Regions from separate parts of the Homo sapiens genome. Here region 2 is linked to region 1. Evidence: promoter capture Hi-C in 16 types of primary human blood cells and fetal thymus (Javierre and others, 2016). All regions are on one chromosome and are shown on one strand. Each heading gives the region's core, a stretch centred on a gene start or on the middle of the fragment in contact. The rest is flanking DNA. Distances are from core to core; before and after follow the strand shown. Region 1 holds the start of CHI3L1 (chitinase 3 like 1). Region 2 overlaps PPFIA4 (PPFI scaffold protein A4).

Region 1 (6,884 bases), core at 4,357-6,856:
AATGTGGGAACCCCAACTTGAAGCTGGTCAGTCAAAAGTTCCAGAGGCCCAGACTTGTGGTTGATGCCTGAAGGGGCGGCAGTCTTGTAGGAATGAGCCCTCAACCTGTGGGATCTGATGCTCTCTGCAGGCCGAGAGCATCAGAATTGAACTGGAGGACACCCAGCTGGTGTCCATTGCAAATGCTTGCTTGGTGATGGGGAGAGACCCACACATTTGGTGGCAGAAGTCTCCTGTGTTGATGGTGGTCATTGTGTTGAGTGAGAGAACAGAACAAGCACAGTTTATGTTTTCTCCTCTTACCCATGCTTTTACAAGTTCCTTTACTTTTTATGATCAAATATCCTATGTTATACATTTGAGGGGGAAAATTGGAACCAAATTAATATAGCTTATTCACTTCTAGATAGAATGAATGTTTATGATCATGTTATTTATATAGATCCAATGAGAATCTGTCCTTTTTCTTACCAGAAAATAATTGGATACTGACCATGCCAAAATTCCATTTAATTAGGTATGTGTTAAAGAAAAAAATTATCCAATGCCACTTGTTGAAGTATGTAAGGATGTCTTTATCCAAGATCATTATGACAGGTACAGGAACCAGGGCAATGGGGTCTTGCAGTTGGGGGGAGAGATTGGGCTCAACTCTAAATACAGCATGGGCAAGTGGAAATCAGTAGCTAAGGACCAGGGGGTCTGTAGACAGAAGTTACTAAGAGGAAACAGGAGTAAGGGGGATTCTGGCTAAACAGACTTAACAGGATTCTTGCTGCAGACAGGCCAGGGTGGTCAGACATCCCCTGGGGCATGATAAAGGACAAGGAACCTGGTCAGATGTCAAGGTATTCAGATGTTGAGGGTAGGGGGTTCTTGCTAAATTGACTTAGCAGGGCTCTTTGCTAAAACTGGATTTTACAAGGAAGTGCACAGATGGGCCTAGGAGAAGATTCAGAAGCCCGCCTGAAATTTGGCCAAGCAAAGAATTTTTGTTATATGATAAGCCACTATTAAGGAATAAAGACTACATTTTACATGTGGAAATGACACCTATGAAGTCCTCTAGAAAACTCTGGTATGGCTTTAGAACTGATGACATTGCAGCCTTAGAGGTAGTAAAATAAATAAATAAATAAATAAATAAATAAATAAATAAAACCTACATTTCCTGGCAGTCTAGGAATATTAACACATATGGGAATCTTAGAGAAAATGGTGCTGATATAATACTTCACACATAAAAGTAATTTCTTCCCAGCCCTAGGGGCTTTACAAAGCCTCCAGACAGAAGCTCACTGTAAAGCATCACTATCATGTGGCTCTGGTTTCGCTAGCCATACAAAAAGAAAGTATTTATTTCATCAACACCTCCTGTTATGTCAATAGAAATAAATTTTGGTCAAATAAAACAAAATATCAATTTGATGATGCTGCATCAGGAAGTTATTAAGCAACATATACGGTTCAACCCATGCCTCAATGGCAAGGACTTGCCCACAAGGAAGGAAAATCCGTAGACGCAAAGCCCAACTCTTCACTCTACTGGCTTCATTCATGACCAAGTACCACTGCGGGGTGGGGATGGGAATAATTTGCATCTGGAGATAAGCCAAGAATAATAGGTTATCCTGAGTGGTTTAAGACACCAAAATAATAAGCCTTGGCTATTTCCCATAAATTTGGATTCCCAGCTGGGTGTGGTTGCACACGCCATTGATCCCAACACTTTGGGAGGCTGAGGCAGGAGGATGGCTTGAGCCCAGAAGGTCGAAGCTGCAGTGAGCCCAGATCACGCCACTGCACTCCAGCCTGGGTGACAGAGTGAGACTCTGTCTCAAAAAGAAAAAAAATTCCCCGAAAAAAACAATTTCATCCCTGATTTTTGCTATGCTGATAAGTGAAGATGTGTTGTAAAAATGATGCTGATCTCCACCAAACGTGATAACCTTGGGTCATTTTTTTTTCCCCTTCAAATACTTGTTGCATTTTGCATTTGACGAGCCAGCCATTCTGAAATCTGACTCGCTTCCGCTTTTCACAAGCAACTGTTTTCTTCTCTAAGTGTTTCTGCCTCTGAGTCTTCGACAGCTTCTACTGTGCGCCAGCACCACCACCGAGCTGAGGATTTGGAGATGATTTGAATTCCTGCCTGGCAGAAGTCCACCCTCTGGAGGAAGAGACTACTTGTAAAAGAGAGAATTCTCCTCAAGCATTTGGTGGGGCATCAACACCACCTCTGTTTGCTCTGACACGCCATGCAAAATGAAGGAATCCTCAAAACCACTGTGCCCAAGGGGCCAGCCCAGGCTCCCAGGAGCTTGTTTTCTGAATGGTGGTAATGTCCACCCTCTGGCTCCTGATCCAGACTCATCTTGTGCCTCCCTCGAGCTCCCTCCTGCTAATTCCATGCCTCAACCACTCTTGAATTCTTCTGGTTCCTGAACATAACAACCTCTTCCTGCTCCAGGTTTTTGCACAATTTTTTTTGTGTGTAGGGGACGGTGGGCAAGGGGCAGACTAACACCTGCCCTTCCTTCGTAATACATTACTTGCTTTTCTTTGTTTAATGTCCATCTTCTTTGCCAGACTGTATGCTTCATGAGGACAGGGACTGCCTCTCTGTTCCCATTCACCTTTCTGTCTCTACTGTCTACCTCAGTGGAAGGCAACTACTCTAGTACACTTACTTAATAAACATTGGTTGAACACTATCAATGTACTGTGGGGCCTAGAAATGTTTGATTAGGGAAATTAAGTCAGGAAGCTTGTTTTGTGGTTTTATGGCACCTCCTGAGTCAGTTCTTCACAGGGTAACAAAAACTATTGAATGAGATGAAATTTTGAGAACATCAGGGTTTAAACTCATAAGAGTGTGAAGTTATGCACCATTTTGAGATCATTTGTTCATTTATTCAACGAGTACTTTACTGAGCATCTACTATGTCTCAAGCACTGGGGATAGATACAAAGGTGGATAAAATGACCCAGCCGTTGCCTTTACTGAGTTTATAGTCTAGTGAGAGAGGCAAACAAAACATCCACTGCCACACACAACATATAAAATTATAACTGAGTCAGGTGTTAAGGAGAGAGGTACAAAGTGCTCTGACAGCCCTATAGCGGGTTTTCTGTCACCTGGAGACTGCCTTTTCTGCAGACAAGGTGACTCCTGAGCTGCAATCTGAAGGATGAGGAAGAATAAAGCAGTCAAAGAAGAGCAGTGTTAGGCTGCAATTCTCCATCCGCAATTCTCCAACCGCAATTCTCCATGGGTTGCCTGCATTTCCTGCACAGCTTATGTGCAGAGGCACTGGCTTCTTTGTTCTAGGCAATCTTTTTAGTGATGTTTGTACAGCAAACAGCCTTGGAAGATAGAAATAGCGTCCCCCCTCCAGACCAAAAGGCAGATTTGTTTACTGTCCAGTAATAAAGATAATGTCTCCCTTATCTTGGGCTGGCCAAGGTGAGGAAGGCTTACTGCTCATCATGAAAGATTTGAGTTCCTTAAACTAGGGATTCCTCTGCTGTGATGTAACTCATTGCATTCATGGCATCTACCTGGGCTCCTCCAACACTGCCCTTGTGAGACCTGAGGGCTAAGGGGAACTGACCCTAACATGAAGTTCATGCTGCTTGCTGTACCATGGATAATAAAGTCCTTTGTCTCTGACCTAGGAGTCTCGTGTCTTCTGCCAACATCCACGAAACTGTAGTTATGTCATTAATTTGCAAGTAGCATAAAATCTCAGATCTTTCATCGTTATTTACAGGCAAGTGGATGTCATATATAAAGGCCCTGTGGCGGGAGTCAGTAGAGCAAATATAAGGATTTAAAAGAAGACATATAAGCATGAGTGGAATATAGGGAGGGTGGGGGTCATGGCCTGAGATAAGGCTGGGAGGTGGTGAGCCTATGAGACCCTTGGCCAATCCTGCTAACACAGGCCTGGGGGTATCTTGGCCATTTGTTGTTACAAAGCTGCCTTCAGGCAGAGCATGTGGAATTAATAAACTGAGCTTGAGGGAGCATAGGACAACAAGGCTTGGGCCAATCTAAGCCTATGAAATAATTTTTAACAAAGGGAGATAGTGAAAATAGGAGGTGTTTTCTTAACATCCTGTGCTCTGTGATGAAAAATTTTGCATCTGCATGCCACTTCATAATATCACTATTAGAAATTAGAAGTCCTCCTCTCAGTGCCCCAAATGAACCAGAAGAAGCTATCATTGACTGTCATTGCTGTCAATCATCTTGGGTACAAAAGGAGGCAGTCATCTTAAAAAGGAAAAGTGATGCCTCTTTAGTATTCACCGAGCGTGATTCTGGACAAGCCACTTTTTGTCCACCTCTCTTACAATGAAGGGAAGGCACTGGCTGAGTTTTAAAGGAAGAGAAAGGGAGAGAGGGAGAGAAGAGGGAGAGAGCAGAGAGACCTCACCGAGAGAGCTGCAAAACCAGCCTGGAAAAATTAGAGTATTACCTAACATTAGTGAAAAATAAAGGTACTTTCTTGAGAAGCCCTTGGACCCATTCTGCCTCTTGGAGTTCTGAACTTTTCACTCACTGCCTATTAATTAATGTTAAGCCTGCAAAGAATGGAGTTGTCCTGGATATTTGGCCAAAAAAAAAATGTATCCACAAACAGGGACGTAATCAGGCAGGGAGCCTCGTTAAGAAGTTTTGTTCTTGTCCTAGGAGTGATGAGAGATCACTGAAGGATTTAGAGAGGGGCTGTATCATCAGGCTTGGGTTCCAAAGCCTCACTGAGAGAGTTGGGGAGCTGACTGATGTCAGATGCTCGTGCAGCCGCCCCGTAGGGCCTGTATTTCCTCCATGGTGCCTCACTGCAGCACCGAGCTTGCAAAAGATCCTCTCTCTTTATGGGAATTTCAAAACAGAAGCAAAATAGCACCGGGGCTTAAAGCATTCTTGGGAATTTCCCTGTCTTTCCCTCTAAATAATCAGCATGTAAATTGCAAAAAAAAAAAAAAAAAAAAAAAAAAAGACACGGGCCCAAAAGGGAGCGCTCAGTTTCAGGCTCTTTGCTTTCCTTCCTCCCGAGGCTCTCTGGCCCTTACCCAGCCTGAAGACAGAAAGTGTGAGGGGGAGGGTAGGAAGGTAGGTCAAGCAGGGCAATGCTGAGCCTGGGAAGAAAACAACAGCCTTGTTTAGGGCACTGTGGCTTACGTAACTAAATTGTGCCCAGTTTCCACCTGGCCAGGGGCCTGGAGTGAATGCTGAAGATGCAAAGGTAGAGGCTGCCAGAAAAGCCAGGAAATTGCTGGCAAGAAAGGCCAGTGGTGGGGTGCAGGAGTGGGAGGAAGGCTGGGAAATGCGGCTGAGTCACATCTCCAGAAGCCCCCCATCATCACCCTAGTGGCTCTTCTGCTGGCAGGTGCCTCATGAAGACCTGACCCAAAGTTTTCAAAACTCTGCGGTTTCTCAACCCTCCTCTGGTAATCCATAGTACTCCCCCGCCTCCACTTGCCAGCCTCGTGATTCCTTCATTGACACATAGCTCAGTTCCCATAAAAGGGCTGGTTTGCCGCGTCGGGGAGTGGAGTGGGACAGGTATATAAAGGAAGTACAGGGCCTGGGGAAGAGGCCCTGTCTAGGTAGCTGGCACCAGGAGCCGTGGGCAAGGGAAGAGGCCACACCCTGCCCTGCTCTGCTGCAGCCAGAATGGGTGTGAAGGCGTCTCAAACAGGTATCTGGGCTAGCCAAGGTTAATCCATCAGAGTTGTGGGTTTTCAGGCCCAGACAGCCCGCAGAGCCATCTGCCTGCTGGGTGAGGGACTAAGGGAGTGGGCAGAGGGGGAGGAGAAGCAGAGCCAGGGGAGGGACTGAGGCTGCAACCAGGAGGTGGGGGTGGGGGAGGTGGGTCTCAGTTGCTTGGGGGAGGGAGCAGGGCGGAAGGGCAGGATGCACTTGCAGGGGTCTCATCCTGGATTTCTCTTCAGGCTTTGTGGTCCTGGTGCTGCTCCAGTGCTGTGAGTAATCCCTCCACCTCCACTTTTAAGTCCAGAGGCGTGGCGAGGGCACAGGGCAGGTGTGGAGGAGGTCTTAGCTCCAAGGGAACACTTTGCCAGGTTCTTCTGTGCTTCCAATGACTTCGAAATAGTCACGTTTGCTAAACTGGAGTGAGGAGTATATGGATGTTTATTTTGCTATACTCTTTGGTATATGTGAAAATTCTCAAAATAAGAAACTTTAAAAGGTCCTGGTTCAGTGAAGGCTTTGACTAACAGCCCCTGGGAGCCGCTAGTACAGTTGCCCAGTAGCTGCTTGGATGAGTGATGCCCACATTGTTTGCAGCAGGAGAAACAGAATTAGAGGCGAGGAAGGATTTCCTGGTCCATTGTGATATTGTGCCCCAGCCTGGGGGACATGCCGAGGGAGCACAGGACTGCCATTCCGGGTGGGTTACAAGTTAGAGGCACTCTCACCAGGAGGCAGAGAAAGGTGGGCCAGAGTCCCTCATGGATGAAGGACCTCACTGCAGGTCACTAAAGGTGCCAGCCTGAAAGCCAGGGCCATCTGTGACACAGGCTATCTTGGGCCTTCCCCTCCCACAAAGCCACTGCTTCCAGGAAGCCTGCTGTGCTGGCACCAAGTCCCATTTCATCCTTATTCCCCAGCTCCTACCCTTCCCCCACACAGTGCCTGTAGCGTATTCATCCCCTGCATTGGATCTTTTCTAAGCATTTTCAGAATAGGCCTTATTTTCACCAGTCAGGGAACTCCCCAGAGGCAGGGGGACCTGAACCAGCTCCTTTCATTTAAGAATTCTGACTTTGCTCACAATCTGCACCCCACTCCTCCCTACCCAACCCCACACCCCATTGGTGCTCAGCTCTGGGCTCAGCCTGAGGTCTCTTGC
Region 2 (6,934 bases), core at 132-2,631, 140 kb after region 1:
CATCACAGCACTCCTCTGGCTACAACTGCCTCCCTCTGGGCCCCAGGAGGTCACTCCTGACAATGACCAAACACCTTGCTATCCTTTGTCTCTCTTGAAAACAAGTTTCTAGTTTTATCTGCTATGCCAGCCTCTTGTAACCCAGAAAGGGGCGTGACTGGGGGAACAAAGGTTCAGACAGAGAAGGAATCTTGCCTGATGCTGCCACATGAGGCAGATGGTGCCTAACAATTCAAGCAGACAAGCGTATGATGTGCCCAGCATGTGTTGGGCACTAAAATAAAAATCTACAGATTTCATTGCAGATGGGGTAGGGAGAAGAAGAAAAGAGAAGGGGGAATATCAGAGAAAGCCTCAAATTTAATTCAAGCAGTTAGTCTACTGAACTAAGGCAGAGCCGGGCCTCCAACCTCCCACCTTGGGGAACACATGACCCCTGCTACACAGCTCTCCATGACCTACCTTCCACAGGCGTTTCGGCCCCAGCTCCACAGTCCCCTCCTCTTCTGCCGCTCCATCCCGCACCCCTGCCCCCTGCTGCAGGGCAGACACCTGTAGGGCACAAGCCCCAGGGCAATGAGTCAAAGAGAAGAGAACCTCCCATACATTCCAGACCCTTCCAAAGCCCCTGTCTTAGTTAAAAAATGTCTCCTAGAAAGAGGTGCTCAGCCTAGCCTTGCCTAGCAGCTTCCAGCCATGGCAGGGAGAAATCTGACAAGAAACAGAGTAGGGCACAGGGGTGAACCAGCCTGGACTTCCAGGAGCTGCAGACTGAGGGTGAGCAGGCAGATTACCTGCTGGTGGGCACCTGCCAGCTGCTCCTCCAAGGTGGTGACTCGCTCCAGCGCTGCCCGGAGCCGCTCTCGCACCTGCTCGAGGTAAGGGGAGATGGAGGAAGAAAGGGGGACCCCACTTGAGTCAGGCTGGAAGAGACTGGGCTTGGTCTACCACCACTGAGCATGAGGACAGTGAAGGGCCTACTAAGCAGCACATTTGCAGGAGGGAGCCTAACAGGAGGACCTTGAAGTTAAGACAATGTTTGGAGGGAGCCAGTGCTCCCTAAATACCGGATGTGGAAATCTCAGAGAAGGGATACATGGGAGGCTCCAGGGCAGCCTGGCTGGATGTGGGGGCTGGCGGGCAGGTGGGCACCTTCTCATCCAGGGCCTTGTGGTGCTCAAACAGTGACTTGAGGGCCTTCAGCACCTCCACCTCACTGGAGACCCCCGAAGGTGACTGGGCCTGGCGCTTCACCACAGTCATCCGCAGTGACCGTTCATGGCGGGACACCAGGCACTCCAGATGTTCCAGAAGCAGCTGGCAGGGAGAGCAGGGGAGGGTGAGAGGGAGGGCTGTAAGCATGTGCCCCAGGGGCTACAAGCAGGGTCCATGTGATCCCCGAGCAGACATGAGTTACAGCCACCCCACTGTGAAAACACTGAAATACTTCCAAATGGGCACAGAGCTCCCGCCCCAACTGATACTACTCAAGGTGACTGCCCCGGCCTCTCCCCAGGACCCTGAGCTTTCTGTGAACCAGCAACTACAGGTGGAGAGCCCAGCACTGGTGGTTAAACGATGTAACTCTCACCCCAGGATGGGAGACAGGAAGAGGGAAGGATGGGGCTTGAGCTAGGACTGTGCCTGGCCCCACTCTTGCCTGCTCTCTTGGTCAAGGTGTTCACAACACACCCCCATACACACACACACACACGTGCGCGCGCGCGACACAAGGTCATCCCCACTTACCCGTGTGTTATTCCGTTCTGCTTTCAGTTCTGATATCTCTTCCTCCCGCTCTAGAAGCTGCTCCCGACACATGCTCAGCTCCCGGGTTAAGGTGGCAAATTCCTGAAAACCCCCAAGGCCCCTCAGTGCTTCAGGATTCACCCCCAAAGCAGTGTCCTGCACATGCAAGTCAGTGGTGGGATCCTCTCACCCATCCCTTACTTCCACCACCTCCCCCACAAAATCCCAATCCATCCACACTGCAGGTCAGTAAACCTGTAGCTAGCATGTGCTTCTCCAGAGGGGTCCACATCTCTGGGTCCTCCATGCATTCCATGTGTTAGAATCCAAGGGAACAGAGTTGTACACAAGAGTGAGAAAGTCACTGAGTCTGCTCTGCAGACCCTTCCCCATCCAGCCACCAATATGACCAGATTACATCCTCCCTCCCACCTGGCATTTCCATTTCTCCAGGAATTCAATGACATTTTCCTTTAGAAACTGATGGAGGGGAATTCTGCTTCTGGTTTGGTGGATTAAGGTCCAAACAGAAACTGATGGATATGAAAGAGGGAAGAGAAGGCCCAGCACAGTGACTCACGCCTGTAATCCCAACACTTTGGGAGGCTGAGCCGGGCAGATCACCTGAGGTCAGGAGTTTGAGACCAGTCTGGCCAACATGGTGAAACCCTGTCTCGACTAAAAATACAAAAATTAGTCAGACGTGGTGGCGCACACCTGGGTAATTCCAGCTACTCCAGAGGCTGAGGCAGGAGAATCACTTGAACCCGGGAGGCGGAGGTTGCAGTGAGCTGAGGTGGCACCACTGCACTCCAGCCTGGGCGACAGGGTGAGCCTCCGTCTCGAAAAATAAAAATAAATAAATAAAAGAAACAGGGAAGAGAAAGAGCTTTTGAAGATAATGCCTGCATGAGTGCCCCAGGGAGCTCTTCCAGCCCCATCCCAAGGCTTTGCAAACTGCAAGTAGCGGGTGAAATAAGCAGATCAAAGGACCTACCTACATAGGAGCAAGAGAGTATGCAGACCTGCCCAGTCAGGCTTTCTAGGAGCCCTGCTCAACCAAGCAAGGGCTACATCCCAGCTCCTGATGCCAAGGCAGTTGCCCTGGCTTTACCAAATATCCATGTACCAAGTATCACTTCTAGAGGGGCCCATTTCCACACTGTCAGGCCCAGATAACTTCAGAGACCTTGCCAGCCCACCCTCCCCCATCAGGACAAGCATACAGGGGTGAGAGACTGCTCCCACATTCCAGGCTCATCATATCCTGTTTAGCTAAACATCACCTCCTTCCAGGGAGGTTTTCAAATGAGTGGCCCCAACTCTGTGGATGTCCAAGGTCTAAGAGCGATGCAACAGGCCTCATCCCTGTCCTAACCTGCAGCCTCCCTCACACACCAAGGATTCATGACCAAAGGAAGAACTCCCAATCCCCTCTCATCACTCCAGATAGGGCAAAAGGGGCTAGAAGGGTTGTGGGAGGGCAGAAGGGACAAGAGATGCCAGAGCATGAGAAACCATGAACCTCTGACATTATTACTCAATTACTGCCTTTCTGTCAGGGCCATGGCCAAAGGTGGTCAAGGTCAAGCATCTCATACTCCAGAAGCCCAGGCCTGATGCTGTCTCACCCCTCAGCTTATGCACAAACACAGTCACACTTTCACAGGCACACACAGTCATGTACACATGCTTGTAACCAGAGACAGGGCTTGACAGCCTGCCACCCAGCCCTACACCATGACACCACCACCAAAAGGCTGGTGCTGCCCCCTCTCCTGGCCTCAAGCTCAGCAGCTGTCTTATCTCCCCCCACCACAGGATACCTGTCCCCTCCCTTCCACCTCTAACCTATCTGACACCCTGCTGTCTACAAATCTCCCAAAGCACAATGCTGTCTACAAACACAGGAGACGGTCTCCTCTGTCACCCAGGCTGGAGTGCAGTGACTCAATTTCAACTCACTGCAGCCTGGACCTCCTGGGCTCAGGCGATCCTCCCACCTCAGCCCCACGAGTAGCTGGCAGCATAGGCATTTGCCACCATGCCCAGCTAATTTTGGGGATTTTTGTAGAGATGAGGTTTTGCCACATTGCCCAGGCTGATCTTGAACTTCTGACCTCAAGCAGTCCATCCACCTCAGCCTCCTGAAGTGCTGGGATTACAGGAGTGAGGCACTGCACCCAGCCTACAAATACAAACTTCTTATCCTGGTTTTCAAACTTCTCTCTCATGTCATTTCCATATCACCTAAGACCCAGTCAACCTGGATCACCTGCTGCTTCTAAACACCAGCATGCCTTCCTAATATCACATCTTGGCTCAGTGGACTCCCTCCCCCTGGAAAAACCTCTGTCACCACCCGATGAAATCATAATCATCCTTCAAAGCCCATCTCAAAGGATACAGCCTTGCTGGGAGCTGTCCAGACTCCCCACGGGGAGGCTCTCTCCCTCTCCTGAAAGCCATTTGGAGGAGTGGTCAAGAACACCAACTTGGGAGTCCATCATTCAACCACAAATATTTGTGAGCACCTATCATGTACCAGGTCCTGTGCAGATCACTGGGGATATAGTGACAAGAAAGACACAACCCCTGACCTCATGAAGCTTCAGTGTGGGAAGTCAAGTAGGCCTGGGATCAAATCTCAGCTCTGCCCCTGTTAGCTGTATGATCTTGAATAAGTTACCTAATCTCTCTGAGCCTCATTCTCTGATCTGTAAGACAGACGTAACAGTCCTCCCTCCAGGTGCTGGTATGAGAGTCAAATGAGCCAATGTATAGAAAGCACTTAGCCCAAGCCCATCAAAAGCAGCTATTTTTATCACTGATACTGTGCTTAATAACCCTTTTGGGCCTCTCTTATCTTCCTCTGCATTCTCTCCGGTCACATGGGTGGTGTATCTCCTTCCTAGTCTATGAGCTCCTTGGTGGCAGGAACTAGTTCATTCACTCTAGGGCAACTTCAGAGCCTCGTGCACAGTGAAAGAGGAGGTCCCCACCTGCCCACCCAACTGCTTCACCAGGGCTCTGTATTCTTGTCCACCAAGCATCACTTTTGTGTAGGAAACTCACCCACTCAGGCCCAGCCCTTGTTCTCTTCCCCACACACTGGGAAGGGCCTGGCGCTGAGGCTTGAGCTCTTCGGCTCCTCAGGGCTGCCTTCCCAACCCCAGCAGCGCCCCCACTGGGTCAGGGTAGGCTATGCCATGTGTCCACAGCTGGCTTTCAATACCCATCTCTCTGCTCATACGAGGGGCAGAGAGGGCAGGATGTTCCCACAGTCACTGTGAGCACTGTCTCACAGACACACAACCCCCAGCCCTCTCTGGGTCTGGTTATCAGGCAGAGTTCACAGCTTCTTTGACAAGCAGCAGCTAAACAGCCCAAGAACCAAATCATCCAGGCTCCTGCTCCCTCCTGCATTCCCAGAGCATGCGCCATGCCTGGAATATCTACCAAGTGGGTGATAAGCAGGCATCAGCAGGGAGCTCCCAGGCCAATGCAGTGAGGGAGAAATAGGTGCAGTGGTGAGAAACTTAGCCCCAGGCTCAGTTCCTGCCTCCACCACACACTACCTGCATGGCCACGAGCAACTTACTCATCTCCCCAGCTTTAGTTCCGTGATTTGTACAATGGGATGATGGTGGTAACAGCACCAACTTCAGGGTTGTAAGAGTTTAGTGAGAGAATCCTTATAAAGTGCTTGGTCCACAGAAAGGACACAGTACACGGGACTACAGGACAGCTGGTGGTTGTGCTGTTGAGTGTGAGACAGGATGTCGAGACATCTGGCTGCTAGATTCAGCCCTGCCTATCATCTTCCATGTGATGTCTCTTGCTTTTTTGATCTATGCAATAACGGAGCTGGACGAGATGATCTCTAAGAACTCACCCATCTCTACTGTCTGTGATTCCCCACCCACCTCCAAGAATAGGGCACTGGAGAGGAGTACGCAGGGAGGAGGTTTCTTTCCAGTCTAGGGTGCCACCTACTGGCCGCCTGAGCTCACTGTAGCTGACACCTATGGCTGCGTTTTTCTACCCACATCAAATTCCATCCATTTCACCTTCCAGACTGAGGAGCATGGGAGTGACAGGGAAAGAATTCACGTAGAGAGATGAAGGAGAGTAAATGCTCAGTGAATTCCAATTATTGATATGCAAATAGATGCAGATGAGCTGAGGGCCCAGTGGATCTAGCAGGGCTAGAGGAGGGAAAGGGGTTAAGAGAGACGCAGGCCTTCGGGCCTTACCTGGGGGAGGGCGGAGTTAAGGTGGCGCTGGAGCTGGTCCCGCTCGTGTATGGCATCCTGGAGCCGGCTCTGTGTGGCCGCCAAGGTCTCCTGACTCTCCCGAAGAGACTCCAGCAACTTCTCCCGCTCGTCCAGCATGTTCACCATCAGCTGCTCGAAGTTGGCGTCAGCATCGGCGCCATGAGGGGGACCCAGGCGGTCCCCCTCATTGATTGTGGGCATCACCTCACACATGGTGGGGGTTGGCAGGGCCTTCTCAGCGTCAGGGGACAGGGAGGGACTCACAGGGTTGGCACCTCCAGGGGAACCCAGTGCATGGGTCTCAGAGTGGGCAGTGCCAGGCGAGTGGACAGGTGGGCAGGGGCTTCTCCCATAGCATCAGTTGCTTTTGCTCTGAAAGGGGCCTGGGGTCTGGAGTGCCCCTGTGGAACTGAGCCAGAAGGCCTGGCTTAACTTCTCAGGGCTGGGGCTGGGTGCCCTGTGTCCCCAGACATGCAGACAGCAGCCGAATGTGGCCATGACAGGCAGGGACAGCAGGGCTGGAAGATGGCCCTTCTCTTAGACTGAGTGCCGGAGGCTGGCAGAGTCCCAGCTGGATCTAGCGACACCCATCGTTTCTGGAGGGCAGTGTGTCTGTGGGAAAAGAGACTGCTGTGAGTACCAACTGGGTGGAGAAGGGCATCAGGGGAGGGGGTGGAGCAGAGGAGACAGGACCTGAACTAGAACATGGGGGAGGAGAGGGAGGTGCTGGCGCATGCCCCTTCTCCAGGCTTACTCACTCTGATGGCACCTCCTTAGTTCTCCCAAGGAATGCACATGCCTACTGCCCAGCCTCTGCCTCCCCCTGCTCCCCACAGCTGTCAGAAGTGCAGCCGCAGTGGCAGTGGTTCCCCTACCCACGTGGCTCACTGGCCAAATATAGAAATGAT

What was found. Contacts are between HindIII fragments. The CHiCAGO score rates a contact against its expected background, and 5 or more counts as called.
Region 2: a fragment that was not itself captured here is called in contact with the fragment with the promoter of CHI3L1 in region 1 in 7 of 17 cell types (M0 macrophages, M1 macrophages, M2 macrophages and 4 more); the score reaches 10.1 in M0 macrophages.

What each region holds. Positions count from the first base shown.
Region 1 is chr1:203,185,426-203,192,309 of GRCh38, reverse strand. CHI3L1 (chitinase 3 like 1) reads left to right here and starts at 5,606. Exons shown (of 10, transcript NM_001276.4): 1 at 5,606-5,711; 2 at 5,965-5,994. The coding sequence starts at 5,687. The HindIII fragment of the contact is 7,916 bases long and covers 2,770-6,884 here.
Region 2 is chr1:203,038,314-203,045,247 of GRCh38, reverse strand. PPFIA4 (PPFI scaffold protein A4) reads right to left here. Exons shown (of 30, transcript NM_001304331.2): 2 at 6,006-6,638; 3 at 1,750-1,851; 4 at 1,153-1,317; 5 at 795-869; 6 at 463-552. The coding sequence starts at 6,239. Among named protein-coding and RNA genes, the nearest start is that of PPFIA4, 15 kb to the right of the region's middle. RefSeq lists enhancers at 1-433, 3,152-3,651, 3,652-4,153, 5,835-5,994 and a silencer at 413-707. The HindIII fragment of the contact is 5,958 bases long and covers 1-4,360 here.